6 separate regions of the Homo sapiens genome follow, and regions 2, 3, 4, 5 and 6 are each linked to region 1. Evidence: promoter capture Hi-C in 16 types of primary human blood cells and fetal thymus (Javierre and others, 2016). All regions are on one chromosome and are shown on one strand. Each heading gives the region's core, a stretch centred on a gene start or on the middle of the fragment in contact. The rest is flanking DNA. Distances are from core to core; before and after follow the strand shown.

Region 1 (2,572 bases), core at 45-2,544:
GGCCAGGCGCGGTGGCTCACGCCTGTAATCCCAGCACTTTGGGAGGCCGAGGCGAGCGGACACCTAAGATTGGGAGTTCGAGACCAGCCTGACCAACATGGAGAAACCCCATCTCTACCAAAAATACAAAATTAGCCGGGCATGGTGGTGCATGCCTGTAATCCCAGCTGCTCGGGAGGCTGAGGCAGGAGAATCGCTTGAACCCGGGAGGCGGAGGTTGTGGTGAGCCGAGATCGCGCCATTGCACTCCAGCCTGGGCGACAAGAGCGAAACTCCGTCTCAATTAATAAATAAAGACAAAAAGGCTATACATAGATAAACTATTTGGATTAACCAATAATGAACATTATCTATTATTTTATAATCATAAAGTAAGTGATTTGGACAGGGAAATTGGATGGTGATGGGCTATTAAAGTTAACAAGAGGAAAATCAGTATTTTTTTAGAGAAGGCTTTCTAGTGGAGGTTAAACTCCACACTGGCCAAATAGCAACAGGAGCTTAGCGGTGTTCCAACCAACCACAGGAAATAGCTCAGAGGGGGAGTGAACTGATTATATGAATGGGGCATTGAGTAAGGGAGCCTGAGAGAAGGGGAATCGTCAAGGGGAATAAGGCTGGTTCAGCGTGCACTAAAGTCTCCAAACTGGAGAGAGGAGGCAGCAAAAAAGTGCAAGAAGAAAAAGTACAGTAGTTTCTTATCTCGACAGGCAAGTTAAGGACTAGGGGTTGCACTACCTGGAAAGCTAGCAAACGCCCTGGGAGTGAAAAATTTCCAGAGAGGGCCCTTCCTGGAAAAACGCAGCCCCGGTGTTCCCTGATTTCCTGGCTGGGTACCATCGGGCAGTGGACTGGAGAGGCGCAGGGATGTTTTAGGCAGGTGTCTCTTGGGTGTTGGCGTGGACTACATAGCGGAGGTTCAGCCGCGGGACTAGCATTGAGCGACAAGAAGGCGGCGGCGCGTGCAAACCACAAGACTTACCTTACTGTCATCCATCGCGGCAGACAGGCCGGCCTGGCCAGGCACTCCCTCCCGGAGCCCTCCCCCGGCTCAGCCGGCCTGGCCCGGCCCCCGCCCCGAGGAAGAAGGGGATATGGTTCTGGCTGCCTCCTCCTCTCGCCTAACAGTTCGCTTCCCTGATGCCAGAGTCACGGGGACGAGGGACCAGTTCAGGAATGGCAGAGCGGACCCTGGAGGCGGCCCCAAACGCCTCCCTTCGCCGCCGCCGCCTCCTCCTCCCCCTCCATGACAGTCTCTGGGTGTTTACAGACGCTCTGGAGAGCCGCCGAGACCGGAGGGTGGGCGGGAGCGCTGCACACGGAATGGCCCCTTCGGCTGCCGTAGCACCGCGGCATTCTGGGAATTGTGATTTTTCTTATCACAGTCTCTGCGCTACTGACTGGAAAAAAAACTACGATGTCCACATAGCCTCATTAAGGGGCAGCTGTTTTCCTTTTGCCTACTAGCTAGCGCTGAGGAGGCGGGGCTGGGCTGGAGGCCCAAAGTGCGCCTGACCTGAGGTTTTGGCTCCTAAGTGCCAGGGCCTGGAATGGCGGGGACGGGAGTTTGGTGCTCTGCGGAGGCAGCCCTGAAGGCGGGGTGCCGGAAGCAGGCCCTCCTCTGGGACGCTGAGGAAACCCTAAAGGTTCTTTATTTAAAAAAAAACGAAAAACAAAAACTAAGTATGTAAAATAGTGCAGCTACTTTGGGAAGAAATTTGGCAGTTCTTCAGAATATTGGCCACTCCCATACCCAAGAGAAATTAAAACGAGTGACTACACAAAAACTTGTATATAAATGTTCTTTCCTAGCAGCATTATTCATAATAGTCAAAAAGTGGAAACAACGCAAATGTCCTTTACTGGATGAATGGATAAACCAGTGTGGACTATACAAATTAAGAAATACTGGCCAGGGGTGGTGGGTCACGCCTGTAATCCCAGCACGTTGGGAGGCCGAGGCGGGAGGATTGCTTTAGCCCAAGAGTTCGAGACCAGCCTGGGCAACATAGCAAAACCTGTCTCTACAAAAAAATACAAAAATTAGTCGAGTGTGGTGGCACATGCCTGTAATCCCAGTTACTGGGGAGGCTGACATGAGAGGATCACTTGGGCCTGGGAGGCAGAGGCTGCAATAAGCCAAGATTGTACCACTGCACTCCAGCCTGGGCGACAGAGCCAGACACTGTATTTAAAAAAAAAAAAAAGAAGAAGAAGAATGAAAGAAGGAAGAAGAACGATGAAGGAAGAAGAAGGAGAAGAAGGAAGAAGAAAGAAGAAGGAAGAAGACCCATATAGTAAGATGCAGTCTCTACAAAAAAAATTAAAAATTAGTTGGGTGTGTTACAAAAAATTTAAAAATTACTTGGGTGTGGTGGTGGTGCTTGTAGTCCTAGCCACTCGGGAGGCCCAGGTGGGAGGATCGTTTGAGCCCTGGAGTTGGAGGCTGAAGTGAGCTGTGATCACGGCACTCCAGCCTGGGCAACAGAGCAAGACTCTGTCTCAAAAAAAAAGGAAAGAAATATTATTCAGCAATGAAAAAAAATGAAGGGATATACACACTTCAATATGT
Region 2 (2,572 bases), core at 53-2,552, 230 kb after region 1:
GGCACGCGCCTGTAATCCCAGCTACTTGGGAGGCTGAGGCAGGAAAATCACTTGAACCCAGGAGGCAGAGGTTGCAGGAAACTGAGATCGCGCCACTGCACTTCAGCAGCCTGTCGAGCAAGACTTTGTCTCAAAAAAAAAAAAAAAAAAGATATATACCATCATAGAACCATAAGAAAGACAGAATAGTGATATCATTTGGATACTTGTCCCCTCCAAATCTCATGTTAAAATGTGGCCCCTAATGTTGGAGGTGGGGTCTAGTGGGAGATGTATGAGTCATAAGAGCAGATCCCTCAAGAATGGCTTGGTGCCTCCCTGTAGTACCGAGCAAGTCTCCCTCTATTAGTTTATGGGAGAACTGGTTGTTTAAAGGAGTGTGGCACCTCCCCCACCTCTGTCTCCCTCTCTTACCATGTGACATGCCTGCTCCTCCTTCACCTTCCTCCATGATTGAAAGTTTTCTGAGGTCCTTACCAGAAGCAGATGCTGGTGCCACACTTCTTATACAGCTTGCAGAACTGTGAGCCAAATAAACCTCTCTTCTTTATAAATTACCCAGCCTCGGGTATTCCTTTATAGCAACTCAAAGTGGACTAACACAAATGGCTCTATTAATATTAGATAAAATAGAAATAAAGACAGAGAGTAATATTAGAGAACGGTGTTTCATAATGATGAAAGTTGTTACATCATGAAGATATAATAATTCTAAATGTATCCACACCAGCAACATATCCTCAAAACAAATGAAGGAAAAACTGACAGAATCAAAAGGAAAAATACACAATTCAACAAAACAGGTTAATAATTCAGTACCTCACTCTCAATTGATAAAACTAAAGACAAAATCAGTAAGAATATACAAAACTCAAAAAACACTATCAACCAACATAACTGACATATATAAAACTCTCTACCCAATGACTGCAGACTATATAGTCTTTAAAAGCACATATGGTTTATACCTTTCACAAAAATTAAGTCAAAATGGATCGCAGACCTAAATGTAAAATGCAAAACTATGAAAGTCCTAAGCAGTAATACAAGAGAAAATCTAGGTAAGCATGGATTTGGTGATGACTTTTTAGATACAACACCAAAGTACAATCCACGAAATTAAAAATGGGACAGATCAATGGAACAGACCTAAGAGTCCAGAAATAAACCCTTACATTTATGGTCATTTTTTAAAGGTGCTGAGATAATTCAATAAGGGAAAACACAATCTTTTCAACATATGGTACAGGGTCAACTGGATACCACAAGCAAACAAACAAAGCAAAATGAACTTAGACCTTTACACAACACACACAAAGTAATCCAAAAAGGATCACAGGCCTAAATGCAATCACTAAAACTATAAAACTTCTAGGAGAAATCTTTATTAAAAATATTGATACACTGAACTTCATCAAGATTAAAAAAGTTGTACTTCAAAAAATATCAGCCAGGTCAGAAGTTCCAGACCAGCCTGGCCAACATGGTGAAAGCCTGTCTCTACTAAAAACACAAAAATGAGCCAGGCACCCGTAATCCCAGCTACCTGGGAGGCTAAGGCAGGAGAACTGCTTGAACCCAGGAGGTGGAGTTTGCAGTGAGCTGAGATCGCGCCAGTGCACTCCAGCCTGGGCGACAGAGTGAGACTCGGTCTCAAAAAAAAAAAAAAAAAATCCCCCAAAAAATGAAAAGAAAGTCACAGTCTGGGAGAAAATACTGCAAATCATATATCTGATTAAGAGATTGTATCCAGAATAAAGAACTTGTTATAATACAATATAAGTTAAAAACCCAATTTAAAAATGGATAAGAGATTTGAACAGGTATTTCAAGCACACAAAAATAATCTCAACATCATTAGAGAAATGTAAATGTAAACCATAATGAGATACCACTACACAACCACTCTGATGGCTATAATCAGAAATAAAGAGAATACTGAATTCTCATACATTGCTGGAAGGAATGTAAAATGGTAATTTTGAAAAAAGTTTGGCAGTTTCGTAAAAGTAAACACAAAGTTACCATACAACCTACCAATTCCGTTCCTAAGAATCCACCCAAAAGAAATAAAAACACATTCACATGAACACATGGTCACAAAGGTTCATAGCAGCATTATTCATAACAGGCAAAAACTGGAAGTCAGACTCAAAAGAGTATGTATTGTATGATTCCATTTAGATGAAGTGTCCAGAAAAGCTGGCCTGTGGTTGCCTAGGACTGGAGACTGGGAGCAGAATTAACTGCAAACTGGAAATAATTTTGATATGGTCCTCATTCATCTCTTTTTATCTCTGATTAGATCAAGCCATCTTCCATATATAGGCACACCTCATTCTATTCCACTTCAAATTTTTTTTAAATTGTGCTTCACAGATACTGTGTTTTTTTTTACAAATTGAAGATTTGTGGCAGGGTGCTTACTTCATGTCTGTCACATTTTGGTAATTCTTGCAATATTTCAAACTTCCATTATTATGATATCTGTCATGGTGATCTGTGATCAGTGATCTTTGATGTCACTATTGTAATTGTTTTGGGCACCACAAACCACACCCATAGAAAACAG
Region 3 (2,572 bases), core at 24-2,523, 210 kb after region 1:
AGAAATAATAATGAGTAGTACCTAAACACTTTGGAAGTTTTCTGGGCACCAAGTATAAAACTATGTGGAAAGTTTTTCTATCCTACCAACGTTCACGTATACAACTTTCACTATGAAGACGTGATAAAGCTAAATTATACCTTAGAAGGAAACAAAGACTTTAAAACATGTTTGTTTTCATGTTAATTACAGTAGAAGCTAATAGAGAAATAAAGTTCAAATACTTCTGGAATTATTTTTAGGGAGACTTTTGTTTAAAAACAAGTTAAAGAACAATTGAAGGTGACAGGGAATCAAATTTGGACTTATGGGAAAAAGGGGAACTCAACTACTCAAAGATGTTCCATAACAGAGCAGATTTCCTTATATGACAACGAGCTGCTTCTGATCAGATGTTGAGCAAGTCAAGGTTAAAAGTCTACTTCAATGAGATATTCCACAAAAGACCCTCAATTCAGGAACTCTGCAGGAAGCAGAATATTGGATAAAACTCTTGAACACTACAACACACAACCAACTCTCTGGTGTCCACAGTAGGGCAGAATTTCCCTCTAATAATCATCCCTAATTAGAGAAGGGTCTCCAAATTCAGGTAAGAGACAAATTTGCCACTCAATTCAAATATGACAGAAGCTGAATTCACGAATCTCATGATCCTTAAGCATGTTGTTTTGCTCTCTCAACTCTTTTTTCTCCCTTGATGCCCTGCTTTTATCAGCTATCCAATCTAATTCCATGAATAGTTACTGGCTTCTAGAAATCTATCCCAAAGAAACAAACTCAGATGAAATTTATGCACCAAGATTTTGTACTCCAGTATCATTTTAATACCCAAAATGTCCTCCAATGGGAGAATGATTAAACTATATTTATATTTACAAAAAGAAATGTTATCCAGCTGTTTACACTTTTTTTTTTTTTTTTTTTGAGACGGAGTCTCGCTCTGTAGCCCAGGCTGAAGTGCAGTGGCGCCATCTTGGCTCACTGCAAGCTCCGCCTCCCGGGTTCACGCCATTCTCCTGCCTCAGCCTCCTGAGTAGCTGGGACTACAGGCGCCCACCACCAAGCCCAGCTAATTTTTTTGTATTTTTTTTTTTTAGTAGAGACAGGGTTTCACCATGTTAACCAGGATGGTCTCGATCTTCTGACCTCGTGATCCGCCCGCCTTGGCCTCCCAAAGTGCTGGGATTACAGGCGTGAACCACCGCTCCTGGCCTTAGATGATGTTTTCAAACAATATCCAATGACATGGGAAATGCCACAATAGAATTTTAAGTAAAATTGTGATATAAAATGACAAATTTTAATTATAAAGTAAATGTATACTTTACATAGGTCTACACTAGAAGGAAAAATATAGCAAGTTATTAACAATGGCTATGTCTAGGTAGAATTTTTAATTTTCTTTTTTGTCATTTTGTTTTCCAAGTTCCTTAAAATAATCATATATTCATTTCGTGATCAGAAAAAAAATTATTAAAAAAATAAATATGGCAAAAAAGCTATGTTATAGTTATCTTGGATTTGTAACTCAGAAATCAAAACAATTCTTTTAAAAGGAAGAAGCATGGTATAAGAAAATTAAGTTTGCATCTGACCCTATGTTTGAGATGGTTGCTAAGCACGATGTTGTCTTTAAATTAATCAATAAGCAAGGAACAGCTGGGACAATATCCGGTTTTACTGAGGATGTGGAACAACAGGAACTCTAATATATAGCTAGTAAGGCGATAAAAGAGCATAACTACTTTGAAGAGTAAATTGACTGTATCTAGTAAAGCTGAAAATACATGTGCCCTACTAGACAGCAATTTGTTCCTAGTTACATACCCTAGAGAAAACTCTCATACATGTGCAAAAGGAGACATGTACAAAGATGTCCACTGCAAAACTGTTTAATAGTAAAACAACTGGAAACAACTCAAATATTCACTAATAAGTCAATGGATACACTGTGAAATATTCATTTGATGGAATACTACGCAGCAGTGAAAATAAGTGAGACATATATCAACATGGATAAATCTCAAAATTATAAGGAAAAGAAAAAAGAAAGTTACACAAGTAGCTGAAGGATACATATAGAACACAACTTATATAAAGTCAAAACAAGTGAAAGAATATTCTACACCGCTTAGATATACAAAAACATGTAGGAAAAAGACAAGCCACGAAGAAAACACATGGGCATGATGAATGCCAAAATCAGATCAATAATTCCCTGTGGAGTGGGAGGAGGAGGGAATATCAGGGAAGGATATAAAGGATGGGGAGGGGGCGTTGTTTATTTGAAACGTGTATTTTTCTTCCTGCAGGGAAAGAGATCTGAAGCAAACATGGCAAAATATTAAAATATGACAAATTTGATGAATACACAGGTGTTTGCTATTTTTTTTTTTTTTTCTGTATGCTGACATACTGCAAATGAAAAAGAAATTCTAGGTAGCAGCTGATAATCTCTATGGAGGACAAGGCATCCTATCCACAGCAGTTTCTTAAACCCTGCTGGGTCTAAGGCCCCTCTGCAAAGCTGATGGAATCTATGGCTCCACTTCCCATGGGGTTTATTATG
Region 4 (2,572 bases), core at 50-2,549, 170 kb after region 1:
TCAACCCTTAGGTCTGAGGTGAACATAGACGGACGGATATGATTCAGGAGTTTGCTAACACTCACCAACAGAGATAAGACGGACACATTACGCCACCAATGAAAGCCCCAAAACTGCACTCACCTCCTCTGCCCGAGCACGCTGCTGAGGTATTGCTCAGTACTGTGAGTGCTGGTCTCTGTTTTGCAATAATCCTGGGTAATTACTGACTATTCAAAGTGAATCCCAAAGTTCTTCAAACAGAATTTTAAACTGTTTATTTTATTTTTTGAGACAGGGTCTTGCTCTGTAGCCCAGACTGGAGTGGAGATCTCGGCTCACCGCAACCTCTGCCTCCTGAGCTCAAACCATCTTCTCACCTCCCAAGTAGCTGGGACTACAGGCACGCACCACCATGCCTGTTTGTTTTTTTTCTTGGTCTTTTTTGTAGAGATGGGGTTTCACCATGTTGCCCAGGCTGGTCTTGAACTCCTGGGCTCAAACAATCCACCTGCCTTGGCCTCCGAAAGTGCTGGGATTACAGGCATGAGCCATGTCGCCCGCCAAAGTCAGTTTATTTTTAAATGAATGCTCCAAAACACTGGTTCTCCCCTGGTTACATACTAGAATCACCTAGAGCACCTTCATAAATACCAATACCCAACATCCCACCGCCCTAACCCTATCACCCTTCAAAGATTTTGATCTAATCGGTTCGGAGTGAGACCCAGACATCAGAATTTTCTTAACAGCACCTCAGCTATGCTGAATGAATTAAGGTATCATTGTTAAATATTTTAGGTATAACAGCATTATAACTACATCTTTCAAAACGACTCAGTCATTCATTCGTGGAATTACTGGTAAAATTCAAAATAAGGCCTCCATTTAATTGCTAGTATTGTACCAAGCTAATTTCCTGGTTTTGATCATTGTACGAAGGTTATGTAAAGTGTTAACTTTAGGGGAAGCTGCATGGGGCAGGGTATATAGGTACTCTCAAATTATTTCTGTGACTTTCCTCCAAGTCTAAAATTAATTCAAATTTAAAAGTTATTTTTTAAAAGAATCCTTCACTTTTAAAGATATATACTTAAATATTTATGAATGAAATAATGTCTGGGGATTTACTATAAAATATACAGTTGAGGGTGGCAGGGAGTGGGGATATGGATAAAACAGGAGTATTTGCAAGCTGATGATTGTAGTGGCTGGTAATGAGTACATTAAGGTTCACTGTGTTACTCCGCCTTCTTTTACCCTGTCTTCTTCAGTATATGTGTAAAATTTCCCATCATATATATTGGAGGAAAAAACTTCCGAGTAATTTTAACATGTAACCAGGGCTGACAAACACTGCTCTGAAGTCTTGAAAATGTGCTATAATGAGAAGCTCTGTCTGGTACTTCCAGCTACAAAACACTTTCCCCAGCTCTCTGATATAGAGCTAGTCAGTTAATCTCTCCGTACCACACTTTACTAAACTGCAAAACAACAGATATGGATTAGAGGTTTTTGTTGTTGTTTTTCGTTTTTTTTTTTTTTTTTTTTGAGATGAAATCTGGCTCTGTCGCCCTGGTTGGAGTGCAGTGACATGATCTGGGCTCACTGTAACCTCCACCTCCCAGGTTCAAGCGATTCTTGTGCCTCAGCCTCCCGAGGAGCTGGGACTACAGGCATGCACCATCACACCTGGCTAATTTTTGTATTTTTAGTAGAGATGGAGTTTCACCATGTTGGCCAGGCTGGTCTTGAACTTAAAGGACTTTTTAAAAAGAATAAGCATCAAAAAGCCAATTTATTATAATTCTAAGATCTCCTCTCTGAGAGTTAATGTCATAGTTAATTAACTTCTAGCACAACTGTAAAAAATGGTAGAGTCTGGCTAGGGGCAGTGGCTCACACCTGTAATCCCAGTGCTTTGGGAGGCAGAGGCGGGAGGATCGCTTGAGCTGAGGAGTTTGAAAACATCCTAGGCAACATAGCCAGGCGTGATGGCATACACCTGTAGTCCTAAGCTACTCAGGAAGCTGAGGTTGGAGAATCGCTTCTGCCCAGCAGTTAGAGGTTGCAACGAGCTATGAATGTTATCACTAAACTCCAGCCTCGGTGACAGCATAAGACTCTGTTTCTAAAAAAATTAAAAAGGTAAAGTCTTATGTCTACAATAGCATTTCCCAAAGAATGTTCTAAAATCACTACTTTATGGGACATTAATAAATGTTACCTAAGATAAGTGTTCTGAGGTCAACTAAGTTTCAAAAGTCTGGCTTTCTTTATTGTGAGACTCCTAAGAACTTTAAGTGAGATAATACGCTTTGTGACTTTCCAAGGGGTGGTGAGGGAATATGCAAATCGTTTGACCTCTTTATATGGGACTAGTTTTGTAGAACTTATTTTAGAAATAGTGCTTAAGACCACTGGTTCCCAAATCCTGGGTAATAGAGGGTGGCATTGTATCATTTGGTAAACTTATGTATTAGTCTGTTCTCACATTGCTAATAAAGACATATCCAAGACTGGGTAATTTATAAAGGAAAGAGGTTTAGTTGACTCACAGTTCCACATGGCTGGGGAGGCATCACAATCACAG
Region 5 (2,572 bases), core at 54-2,553, 160 kb after region 1:
TGACATGTTTTATTTTTGTTCTGTACTTCTGCTACTGAAAATCTTACAGCAGAGTCACATTACTCATCCCACAGTTTCCTGATAGAATCATTTCGCACTACGTAATAACTGAAATCATTATTTACCTACAAGTCCTTCCATGTGTTTTTAATCTATATGTTTAGCCATGAGAATAACTATTACCACTGTTTGATGCTATCCAATATGGTAAAAATAAAAATACATAGGCGTACATGCGTACATGTATATTTTTCAAAAAATATTTTGAAAGCAAAACCAAAAGCTTTAATAAATGATATCCTCTCCAACAAGAGAGTACGGTGCTTCAAAAACTTTTGTTATATAAATTTTCCTCATAAAATAAGCTTTGATGCTGGTTTGAGGCAGATGGGTCATCCTATGAAAGATGTCACTGTGGTTTGTTATTTGGAGACAGGGTCTCGCTCTGTTGCCCAGGCTGGAGTACAGTGGCCTGATCATAGCTCACGGGAGCCTTGAACTCCTGGGTCCGAGCAATCCTCCCATCTCAGCTTCCTGAGTAGCTGAGACTACAGGCACATGCCACCATGCCTGGCTAATTTTTATTTTTTGTGGAGATGGGGTCTCAAGATGATGCCCTGGCTGATCTCCAAACTCCTGGCCCAAGCCATCCACCCGCTCAGCCTCCCAAAGTGTTGGGATTACAGGCATGATCTACCACACCTGGCCTCACTATGCTTGATGTAGTTCTTTTCAAAGTAAAGGTAAATTTTCCAAATTAGTGACATACTACAAGGGCTTATTTTAAGTTAGAAAAGATGTGCAACATAACAGTAAGAACTTCATAAAGATAGTGTACAACTTTTAAATTCTAAAAACTTAAGATGTAGATATGCATGAAATGATCAAAAGCAAATTTAATAACCCTCATGGTCAAAAGAAAAATGAGTAGGTAAGCTGTGTTTCACAGTTAACAAAATTCACATCCATATGATCAATAGACTTATTTTTCTATCCCCAAAATACTTAAGTTTAAAAGAAATGTTAAAAACAAAAAAGACTGCATATGGACTTAATCAAGACTGCTTTTTTTTTTTTTTTTAAGACCGAGTCTCACTCTGTTGCCCATGCTGCAGTGCAGTGCCACAATCTCAGCTCATTGCAACCTCCACCTCCTGGGTTGAAGCAATTCTCCTGCCTCAGCCTCCCAAGTAGCTGGGATTACAGGTGTGTGCCACCACGCCTGGCTAATTTTTATATTTTTAGTAGAGACAGCGTTTCACCATGTAGGCCAGGTGGTCTCGAACTCCTAACCTCAGGTGATCTGCCCTCCTCGTCCTTCCAAAGTACTGGGATTACAGACGTAAGCCACTGTGCCCAGCTCAAGACGGCATTTAAAAAGTCACTCATCTTTCCCACCCTTTAAAGGTAATGTTTAGCTTTTAATGTGGTGTCTGTCAGTTAATGTTAGTCTCAAGGTCAATTTTTATTTGATCTCAATAGATATCTCACTTTCTCTGCACTCGTTCTACATTTAAATTCCTGTTCCCCAAGGATGTCAGTTTAGGAATATGGAGGCTGGGAGGAGGAGGCATGATGGATGGTTCAAGGTCAGCTAACCAAAGGCTGCCTCTTTTTAGGGTTCTAAATCCATTCCCAGCTTTGTTCTTTCTTTGGGTGGATTTCCTTCTGGGTTCAAAATGTAATGAGCAGGCAGTGATATGTAATTCTGCTCTTTTATTGTAAGTACTTTGTAGCTAAAGAGGCTAAATGGAAAAGTAACAATTCATCCTGTTTTACAGCTATTCAAATAATACATTCTGAAGTCAGTAACAATCTGTTATTTGAAGATGGGCATATTGCTGATTTTTAGCAATGTAAGCTCACCCTTCAAATCCCTGACATCACTAATAATTCATTACCATTAACAAAGTAAGTCAGAAGGCCTGAATTTAAATTCTACTAGTTGGTGAACTTGGGCAAATCACAAGCTGACTCTCAGCTTCTACTTTTTAAAAGTGGGGATAATAATGGCTAATATTCATCCTACCTCACGGCAGTGTTGTAATGGTTATAATGAGATAATATATGTAGGATGATCTGAAAACAGAACACTGCTATAAACATGTATGTTTATATTATTCTAACAATGAATGGCAAAGTATGCTTGGAAGTTCTGTTTTTCATGGTAGTAAAACTAAAAAGTTCCCAAATCATAATCACATTAAAAGAAAACTGCTACATATTTTATATAAAGCTTCAATATCCACCCTTCTCAGATGTTTCTGAAATTCAGAACTACCAATTCTCCCAATTAGGAAGCAGTCAGCCTAACTATATAAATCAGTACTGTCCCTAGGGCAAAATCTGGCCTTGGAATTATAACTGAAGCCATTTATCCAAAGAAGATATACAAATGGCCAGTAAACACAGGAAAAGATGTTCAACATCACTGGACATTAGAAAAGTGCAATCAAAAGCAGAAAGAATACAACTTCACACCCACTGGGATGGCTCAAATTAAAAGGCAGACAATGACAAATGTTAGTGAGGGTGTGAAGAAACTGGAACCCCTGTGCATTGCTGGTAAGCA
Region 6 (2,572 bases), core at 29-2,528, 130 kb before region 1:
TCATACACGTAGTCATGCACATGTTCACCATTTGGAGCAATATGTATGTATGTATTTATGTATTTATTTATTTATTTATTTGAGATGGAGTTTCACTCTTGTTGCCCAGGCTGGAGTGCAGTGGTGCGATCTCGGCTCACTGCAACCTCCGTCTCCCAGGTTCAAGCGATTCTCCTGCCTCAGCCTCCTGAGTAGCTGGGATTACAGGCATCTGCCACCACACGCAGCTAATGTTTGTATTTTATGTAGAGACAGGGTTTCACCATGTTGGCCAGGTTGGTCTCGAACTCCTGACCTCAGGTGACCCACCCGCCTCGGCTTCCCGAAGTGCTGGGATTACAGGCGTGAGCCACTGCACCCGGCCTGGAACAGGATTTAAGTAAAACCTTTTCTCAACTACAGAGACATACGTTTTAAGCCTTCTTGGATTCCCACCACCCTTCCTTTTGTTCTCTCTTGGTCACTCCTCACTTCCAGACTCGGATGAAATAGCCACACTGCAAGGCGTAAAATTAATTTCCTGAGTGATCACGGAGCTGCCAGATGACACCACATGGCATTCAGGGGATTTAGCTCTGCTAAGTAGTGTGAACCTCAGCCACAAAAAATGGAGACAGGAGGGAGCTGGCAGATAAATGCCCTCTTCCTGATCCCTTTCTCAGACTACTCTGGAGTGCAGCTTCTTCTTGCAACCTTTCTAGAGAATTCCAAGTACAGAGCAAGCATGCGGGCTGAAAGATCTGCTGTAGGCAAGACCACTTGGCATTTTCCTTGCCTTTTGCTTCCCTTTTTCCTCCCCCTTCCCACCTGAAACTATTTGTGCTATTCTGAGTCATCCTGCCCTTGCCTTGAGGCCAATCTCAGCACTTAATACACCTAATCTACCACAAATTCAACGTGTACTGGATGCTTAGAGAGGCAAAGAGAATGTTACACTACACGCAATATAGGAAGCTTTCCATTAAAATATTCTTTGGGTTTCTTTCTTTGCTCAAAAATTGTACAGCTCACTTATGTCTCCTTCCTCTTCTCTTCAGTCTTTTCTTTTCTGAGACAGTCTCGCTCTATTGCATAGGCTGGAGCGCAGTGGCACGATATTGGCCCACCGCAACTTCCACCTCCCTGATTCAACCGATTCTCCAGCCTCAGCCTCCAGAGTAGCTAGGATTACAAGCACCTGCCACCAGGCCCAGCTAGTTTTTGTATTTTTAGTAGAGTTTAGTGGCCAGGCTGGTCACGAACTCCTGACCTCAGGTGATCCACCCGCCTCAACTTCCCAAAGTACTGGGATTACAGGCGTGTGCCACCTCGCCCGGCCTTCTTCAGTCTTCTCCTTGTAAAATTCTCTTTCAAATATCTCCTCATTTTGTGTTGGGTAGAGCAATTTGGTCTTCTCTCTGCCTTTTAATTCTCCTCACAGCCAATCACCCTGCTTAATTCAACAAAGGCCCTCTAGGGAGATGAGTACACAAAGCATTCACTTTTTTTAGACAGGAAGGGAGGTATTGCCAGTACATTATTTTAATACATTTTTCCCTCTAACACACAGGCATAAAACAATAAATTCAAAGCAGGCCAGAAGTAGAGAGAAGAAAAAGCTTTGTCAGGGTGAAGCAAGTATGGGATCCAGGTAGGCACAAGTTCATAGTGATATTTGGTGAAGGGAAAGCAGATCGTGGCACAGGGATCTTGTTCTGTGATCTGCCCCATGAAGTCGGGCAGACAGACACTCTACATAAAACAGGTTCAGAATGAGGCCAAATCACCTGGCAAGAGGAGGCCAGGAGCCAGACAGACACTGAGCACAGGCAACAGGAAAGCAGCTTAATAGGCAATAAACCAAGTTCTAAGGCAGAGCACCCCGGAAATTTATAGTCAGGATCAGAACTGATCCCAGCGGCAGTGTCCAATTCCCATCTCTTAAGTGGACAAATAAATCACCTGCCTAGAGTTGAGAGCTGAGAAATCAGAAACCAAGCAGTTCTTTGTTTTTTGATATGGAGTGCAGTGGTGCGATCTCTGTTCACTGCAACCTCCGCCTCCCAGGTTCAAGCGATTCTCCTGCCTCAGCCTCCTGAGTAGCTGGGATTACAGGTGTGCACCACCAGGCCCAGTTAATTTTTGTAATTTTAGTAGAGATGGGGTTTCACCATGTTAGCCAGGCTGGTCTCGAACTCCTGACCTCAGGTGATCTGCCCACCTCAGCCGCCCACAGTGCTGGGATTACAGACCTGAGCCACCACAGCCAGCCATTTTTTTTTTTTTTTTTTAAGCAGGGTCTGGCTCTATTGCCCAGGCTGGAGTACAGTGGTGCCATCATAGCTCACTGCAGCCTTGATCTCCTAGGCTCAAGTGATCCTCCTGCCTCAGCCTCCCGAGTAGCTGGGACTACAGGTGCACACCGTTCCTTGCTAATTTTTTATTAGTAGAAACGCAGTCTTGCTATGTTCCCCAGGCTGGTCTCAAACTCCTGACCTCAAGTGATCCACCAGCCTCAGCCTCCCAAAGTGTTGGGATTACAGGCATGAGCCACCACGCCCAGCCATCATCAATTTAATATCTTGCAGTACTG

Evidence for each region. Contacts are between HindIII fragments. The CHiCAGO score rates a contact against its expected background, and 5 or more counts as called.
Region 2: a contact is called between a fragment that was not itself captured here and the fragment with the promoter of CREBL2 in region 1, in 15 of 17 cell types (total CD4 T cells, non-activated CD4 T cells, naive CD8 T cells and 12 more). The highest score is 13.9, in total CD4 T cells.
Region 3: a contact is called between a fragment that was not itself captured here and the fragment with the promoter of CREBL2 in region 1, in 13 of 17 cell types (M1 macrophages, total CD8 T cells, naive CD8 T cells and 10 more). The highest score is 11.0, in M1 macrophages.
Region 4: a contact is called between a fragment that was not itself captured here and the fragment with the promoter of CREBL2 in region 1, in 4 of 17 cell types (naive CD8 T cells, total CD8 T cells, activated CD4 T cells and 1 more). The highest score is 7.1, in naive CD8 T cells.
Region 5: a contact is called between a fragment that was not itself captured here and the fragment with the promoter of CREBL2 in region 1, in 4 of 17 cell types (non-activated CD4 T cells, total CD8 T cells, naive CD8 T cells and 1 more). The highest score is 6.2, in non-activated CD4 T cells.
Region 6: a fragment that was not itself captured here is called in contact with the fragment with the promoter of CREBL2 in region 1 in 2 of 17 cell types (total CD8 T cells and naive CD8 T cells); the score reaches 6.5 in total CD8 T cells.

What each region holds. Positions count from the first base shown.
Region 1 is chr12:12,610,598-12,613,169 of GRCh38, reverse strand. CREBL2 (cAMP responsive element binding protein like 2) reads right to left here and starts at 1,294. Exons shown (of 4, transcript NM_001310.4): 1 at 983-1,294. The coding sequence starts at 997. RefSeq lists a silencer at 941-1,240 and enhancers at 1,401-1,450, 1,501-1,580, 1,174-1,925. The HindIII fragment of the contact is 19,687 bases long and covers 1-2,572 here.
Region 2 is chr12:12,380,113-12,382,684 of GRCh38, reverse strand. The region is part of intron 2 of BORCS5 (BLOC-1 related complex subunit 5); the gene reads right to left. Among named protein-coding and RNA genes, the nearest start is that of BORCS5, 24 kb to the right of the region's middle. RefSeq lists an enhancer at 1,196-1,490. The HindIII fragment of the contact is 7,704 bases long and covers 1-2,572 here.
Region 3 is chr12:12,400,421-12,402,992 of GRCh38, reverse strand. The region is part of intron 2 of BORCS5 (BLOC-1 related complex subunit 5); the gene reads right to left. Among named protein-coding and RNA genes, the nearest start is that of BORCS5, 45 kb to the right of the region's middle. The HindIII fragment of the contact is 4,273 bases long and covers 1-2,572 here.
Region 4 is chr12:12,437,319-12,439,890 of GRCh38, reverse strand. The region is part of intron 3 of BORCS5 (BLOC-1 related complex subunit 5); the gene reads right to left. Among named protein-coding and RNA genes, the nearest start is that of BORCS5, 82 kb to the right of the region's middle. RefSeq lists enhancers at 1-236, 1-715. The HindIII fragment of the contact is 3,287 bases long and covers 1-2,572 here.
Region 5 is chr12:12,454,288-12,456,859 of GRCh38, reverse strand. All of the region lies in intron 3 of BORCS5 (BLOC-1 related complex subunit 5), which reads right to left. Among named protein-coding and RNA genes, the nearest start is that of BORCS5, 98 kb to the right of the region's middle. The HindIII fragment of the contact is 1,871 bases long and covers 368-2,238 here.
Region 6 is chr12:12,744,006-12,746,577 of GRCh38, reverse strand. It overlaps a transcript of APOLD1 not described here. Among named protein-coding and RNA genes, the nearest start is that of MIR613, 19 kb to the left of the region's middle. The HindIII fragment of the contact is 644 bases long and covers 957-1,600 here.